Linked DNA regions of Homo sapiens: region 1 is linked to region 2. Evidence: promoter capture Hi-C in human tissues and cell types (Jung and others, 2019). All regions are on one chromosome and are shown on one strand. The core of a region is centred on a gene start or on the middle of the fragment in contact, and the rest is flanking DNA. Distances in the headings are between cores, read along the strand shown. Region 1 overlaps CDH2 (cadherin 2). Region 2 holds the start of CDH2 (cadherin 2).

Region 1 (3,035 bases), core at 434-2,933, 130 kb before region 2:
TCGAAGATATGGATCATAATAAAAACTATTTGCAAATTTTATTTGTATTCAATCAGTCAAGAAGAGATTTGCTTCTGTTTCTGGCACTGCCAGTCAGTTGTTGCCAATATTAAAGCAAGAATTATCATCAGCATATAGTTAAAAAGAAATCAACTATTTGTTGGCTGTGATATATATATACACCATGGAATACTACTCAGTCATAAAACGGAACAAAATAATGGCCTTTGCAGCAACTTGGATGGAGCTGGAGGCCATTATTCTAAGTGAGGTAACTCAGGAATAGAAAACCAAATATCATATGTTCTCACTTATAAGCGGGAGCTAAGCTATGAGGATACAAAGGCATAAGAATAATATTAATATAATGGACTTTGGGGACTCACGGGGAAGGGTGGGAGGCGGGTGAAGGATAAAAGGTTACACACTGGGTACAGTGTACACTGCTTGGGTGACAGGTACACCAAAATCTCAGAAATCACTACTAAAGAACTTATCCATATAACCAAAAACCACCTGTACCCTAAAAATTACTGATATAAATAAATATATATATATATATATATATATATATATATAAATATATATATATATATATATAAACAGGTTTGATTTGAAGTAGTTGATGGGGACTTATGAGCTTTAAGGACACTTAAACTAGACCCCTAGTGGCTGATGGCACTGAGTTTTCTTCCATTACATCTAATTTCACTCCAAACTTTATGGTTTTTCCTCTTGAAATAAATTCCCCACCAGCACTATTCTTATTATCATCCTCTTTGAAAAGTCTCATTCTGAGTTAACAAGTAAAGAAAGAAGAAAATGATTTTCTAAGGTCAAGAGTTGAACAAAAGACCTAAAGGAGCTGGAGATGTTGTGTTACAAGTGAATGATCACAGCAGACTGCTTTAGCTGTGAGTGGCCATCCTCAGGCTGGGCCACTCATCTCAGTCTCATCTTTCTCAGAATCTCGGATTTTTTTTTTTTTTTTTTTTTTTTTTTTTTTTTGGAGACAGAGTACTTCTCTTGCTCTGTCACTCAGGCTACAGTGCAGTGGCATGATCTCAGCTCACTGCAACCTCTGCCTCCCGGGTTCAAGCGATTCTCCTGCCTCAGCCTCCTGAGTAGCTGGGATTACAGGCACCTGCCACCACGCCCAGCTGATTTTTATATTTTTAGTAGAGATAGGTTTTCACCATGTTGGCCAGGCTGGTCTTTAACTCCTGATCTCAAGTGATCCACCCGCCTCAGCCTCCCAGAGTGTCAGGATTACAGGCATGGGCCACCACGCCCTGCTAGCCTCTTGGACATTTGAACAGAGGTAAATAAAGACAAGAACCAGTTGGCAGCTGCGCTAATTTGCTGGCTGTACCCTGGAGGTGGAATTCTAGAAACTGTTCACATTTTGCCTGTTAACCCCTTACATTGTTTCTCCAAGGTTTTCCTGGTATATTCTTCCAGTAAACAATTCCTTTTGCTTAAACTGGGTTCTGTTACTTCCATCCAAAAGAATACTATCACACCCCCTCCCACTGATCCATTCCCCTTTTCTATTCATCTTGCTAAAAACTTTCAATGCTTCCTACTGTCAATAAGATAAAATTAAGACTATAAATATTCCAATATTCTCTGTTATGACACTTCTATAGGCTTTCAAATCCAGGCCTATCTACTCAATGACATGCGAAGTGCATACATGCCTTGCTTCCCATTCTAAAACACTATTAAAAATAATAATGGAAAACACAGTGAACATTATTTTAACAGTATGTTTGGGTTCAATGGTTCAATGATGGGCCTGCTAATTATTAGATGTGGAAGCTTGCACATGTTTTCAACTTCTCTAAGCCTTAGTTACTTGTCAAAAAAAAAATGAAGATAATATCTTGTTCCTAGAATTATACTGAAGATTTTAAAAAGATAATATATAACATCGTGTGTGTGTGTGTGTGTGTGTGTGTGTGTAAACAGGTCCTGGCACATAGAATGTTTTCTATAAATGAGATTCATTATATTTCATTATGACTTAAATTCATTATCTCTATCCCAGAACTTTCTTGCTATTCAGAGCAATAGATCTAAGTAGCTACATGAAATTTTCAGGTAGATAGACCTCAAATTCCAAATTCAAAAAGAAAAATTAACACCCACATTCCTCTGAGCCTGGGTTCTCCTACACCGCTCACCATCTACCAGTACCTCAGCCGTTAAGTATGATAATCTTATAGTTCTTCCTCATCCAACTGGTCTTCAAGCCCTCTAGACTTTACCTCTAAGGATAAAGGTTATATCCTCTCCACTTCTCCCAGGCACATAGATTCTCTAAACCTCTTATGAGGCCTCTAGTAATAGCTTCCTAACTGAGCTAGTTTGTCCTTGTTGTACTCACCAAATTTACCCTCCCAACAGCTGATGAATAAGTCTTTGTAAAACCCAAAGCTTATCAGGTTTAAACTTATAAATAGCTCTCCATTGATTAGAAAAGAAAGACCTACTCCTTTGAGTGTTACACATGTCCTTCAACAATGTGGCCACAGCCTAAAAGTCAATTCTCTCATCATGGTCTTGTAAATGAACTTCATTTCCATTGTATTCAATTGCTTACAGTTTCTGGAACACATCCAACTGTTTCAGGCTTCTGCCTTGCTCATGCTAGCCTATCTGAGTGGAACACTCTTACTTAAGCACCTGGGCCAGTGGCTACTCATCTTTTAAGGGTCATTTCCTTTATGACGTCCCAGCAGACAAAGCCCTCCCCCACATGTGTGCTTCAACTGTACTCTTTAAATGCTTCCATCACAGCACTCAAAGCTGAATTTCACATGCCTGTTTACATATTTTCCCAAACCGAAGCTTCCTTTAGAAGCTCTGGTGCTCAGCTCAGAGCCCGGCACAAAACAGGCTCTTGAGATCTGCCTGCTGAATGAATAAAGGTAGAAAGCAGAAAAAGACAACTGAGAGAACTGAATAATTAACAGTAAAGTTCAGGTTATTTTCTGGAGTCTGTAGACATTCAGCTCAGTGACTATCACTGG
Region 2 (3,293 bases), core at 87-2,586:
AGGCAGGGGGACCCTCCGTGGATTTTCCTGCCCCGCGGCGAGGGTGGGCACGCCCCTTTCCCGCAACCTTCGAGGGACCCCACGGCAGGCGGAGACCGACTTGGGACCAGGGCACTGCACCCGCCCAGCTAGAGGGTCCCGGCCGAGGCTGTGTGAAGTGGCCTCCAGGCCTGGGCTGGCTGGTCGGGAGGAGCCTGGGGGCATCCTCGGGTTGGAGGCGGCGGAAAGTTGGGCTGCCCCCGGGCTGGGAACCCGCAGCGTGCAGTGGCGAGGGAACCTGCGCCCGGACTGGAGCAGGTGCTTCCTGCCGCGGAGGAGCCTCTTAGTAGAGATTAAATGAAAAGGCTCGCTGGCTCTCTCCCGAGGGTATGAAAAGTACGGAAGGCTCCAGGCAAAGGCGCCCCCGGGGCGCATATAGGGCACAGGCAGCCGGACAGAGAAAGGAGCAGCCGCGTAACGGAACTTCTCGCCCGGGGGAGATACTAGGCGTGAGAGGCCAGACTCGTTCTACAGGCAGGCGCTGACCGGCAGAGACTCCTCCGGGCAAGAGGGCCAGATTTTCTTTCCAGGTGGGACGAACACAGAATATTGTGAGGGCAAGAGAAGAAGAAAAGGAGGCAACTCCAGACTGGGATAAAGACAATAGGACAGTAGAGCCCTTGAGCACCGGGAGGCGCACGGGTGCAGGGTGGGGTAAGGTGGAGGCAAGTCCCGTAACTAAGACACCAGAGTGAGAATTCCTACTGTAAACTCGCGACCCATCCCTGCAGAAATAAACAAAAAAATTGGAGCAAAGTACTATGCGAGGGGCGAAAGGCACAGAAAACTGCAAAACCTGGGAGTTATCCTGCCTCACCCTCCTGCTGCCTGGGGACACCCCCCGCGAGCTTGCTCGGCCCCGAAGAAGGAGCAGAGGGGACCCGCAATCCAGCCCCTAGAGCCCCGCCAGGAAAGGCGCGAGAGACCTACTGGCCCCGGCAACCCTGCCCCGGCGCCCGGACGGAGCCCGATGCCTGCGCAGCTACCGGCCGCGCGGCGCGGCGCGGCGCGGCGTGGCACCTCCCTTCCCGGGTGCGCAGCCCGGCCCCGCAGCGGCGCGGGGAACAAAGGGACCCGGCGCCGCCCGCCCCACCCCGCCCGTGGCCCGGCCCGCGGGGACCGCCGCGTACCTGAAGCAGGGCCGCCAGCAGCGGCAGCAGGGTCCGCAGCGCTCCCGCTATCCGGCACATGGAGGCGGAGAGGGGCCGAGCGAAGAGCCGGAGGAGGCGGCGGCGGCGGCGGCGGCGGCGGAGGAGGAGGAGGCAGCGGCAGCACCAACAGCGGCGCGGAGAAACGGCTCCAGGCAGTTTCCACCCCCTTCCCTTCCCCTCCCCTCCCCACCCCCTTCTTCGCTGCTCTCCGCTCCCCGCCAATGGAGAGCGAGCTGATGACAAATAGCGGGCCGCGGAGTCCGCGGGACTCGCACCAGGAGTAATAAAACAGACCCAGAGATCAAGGAGCTGGGGAGGGGGCGGGGGAACAGGGAGGGAGAGCGTGTGAGCGTCTGCGAGTGTGTGGAGGCGGCTGCTGTGGCAGCGCAGGCGGCTCGGCTCCGGCCCGGAGCGCAGCGGAAGCCGCGAGGGATGCAGCGGCGGGGACCTTGGCCGGTGGAGGATGTGGAGGTGGAAGTGGAGCGGATGGCGCTCCCCAAGAGCTCCGCCACGCGAGGTTTCGGGCTCGTGGTTTTGCTTCCTCCGGGTCCCCGCTCCAGGGCCGCTCGGCGCGACGAAGACGCCGGGGACAGCGCCGCGGGGAGGGCGCTCCGGGTCGTGCGTGCTGCACCCACAAAGAGCAGCAGTCCCGCCACTCCGCGCCTCCGCTGCGTGGGGGCCGAGGGGCGCTTCTCGGCTCCTCTTTCCGGTCCCCCGGCGAGTTGGAGACTGTTCTCCGGCCTCGGCCGCAAGGGGGTGAGGCGAGGGGCCGGCGCGGTCTCTCCCGCCGCGGCTCCGTCCCGCGCAGCTGCTGCCGCAGCCGCCCCTGCTGCCCGCGCACCGGCACCCGCCCGCCGGTCCTCGCCCTGCGCCGCTCACTCGCGCGCGCCGCCCTCCGTCGCCGACCGCGCACCCCGCTCGGCCTCCGCTGCGCGACCTGGGCGAGCCGCCGCCGCTCTCCCCGCGCTCGCCCCACGCGCTGCCTGGCTGCGCGGCCCGCTCCCCTCTCCTATTCCTCCCGCCGCCGCCGCCGCCCTCGCCCCCGCCTCCCTCCTCCGCCGAGCCTCCCCGCCCGCGTCGTGGCCAATCGGAGGCCACCAAGCTGCGGCTGTAGCCGGCCGGATCCGCGGCAGCCGCCCGCCCCCGCCCCGCCGAAGCGCCCCGTATTTTGCTGCAGCCCGCGGGGGGTCGCCGGAGGGAAGCCTAGAGTGCGCCGAGCACCGCCCCGGCAGGTGGAGGGGCTGCGGGAAATAAAATAACTTGGGCAGGAACTTGATTGGTAGCAGGTTCATCTTTGGTCCGCGGTAGGGAATCTAATGGAGATGAAGAATGGTGGGGAAGGGGGGGCGGTGTCTCCTTGGGAGCCTAACGTACGCTTCTTTATTTTGTCATTCTTTGGAGATGGGTAATCTTTCCTGGCAGGGGCAGACACAGCAAACTAAGGACGCAGGCCAAGCTCATCCTAGCTATTGTTGTCTGAGGCGCTCGCCGGGAGCCACCTGCGGGCGGGGGAGGGCGGAGGCCGCGGCTCCTCTCTGGAGCTCGCACCTTCAGCTCCCACCCTTGAGGATGTACTGGAACAGCCCAAGTTTTTGTGTTCTTGTTTTGTTTTCTTTTGTCCCCTCTGGGAGTTTGAGAGTGCATGTTTGTTATTTTATTTGAAATCTCCCGTTTTCTATTTCTATTACTACCTGTTAGTGGTACTGTTCACATTTGGGGCCAACAGTTTCAGGGTACTTTTACCCTCTCCTACCACCCCTAACAACAATTTTTAAAAAAGAGAGAAACTAAAAGCCGGAACTTGAGAAAATAGGATTATATAAAAGATAAAATGACTGATACAGAATTCTCACCACGTAAAGGATTTCTGCTGGCTTCCTTTAAGGCATGAACTTCAAGTGCAACACAGTGAGAGACTTTACAAGTTTGAGTCACAAGCATTTGTGGAATGGAGCGGGGGATGGGGAGCAGTTTTTGTTTTTTCTAATTCTGGTGAGGTAATAAATTTTCCGGAACCTTTTTTAAGAAAGGTTTACAAGTAAATAGAAATATCCGTTTTATGTAAGCTTTTCAACACTTGGGAGATCGGTGAACTTCATTGCA

What was found. Contacts are between HindIII fragments. The study calls those that stand out against the background at their distance.
Region 1: a contact is called between a fragment that was not itself captured here and the fragment with the promoter of CDH2 in region 2, in 1 of the 25 tissues and cell types used here (hippocampus).

Annotation. Positions count from the first base shown.
Region 1 is chr18:28,042,916-28,045,950 of GRCh38, forward strand. All of the region lies in intron 2 of CDH2 (cadherin 2), which reads right to left. Among named protein-coding and RNA genes, the nearest start is that of CDH2-AS1, 120 kb to the left of the region's middle. The HindIII fragment of the contact is 3,794 bases long and covers 1-3,035 here.
Region 2 is chr18:28,175,794-28,179,086 of GRCh38, forward strand. CDH2 (cadherin 2) reads right to left here and starts at 1,337. Exons shown (of 16, transcript NM_001792.5): 1 at 1,170-1,337. The coding sequence starts at 1,229. The HindIII fragment of the contact is 9,493 bases long and covers 1-3,293 here.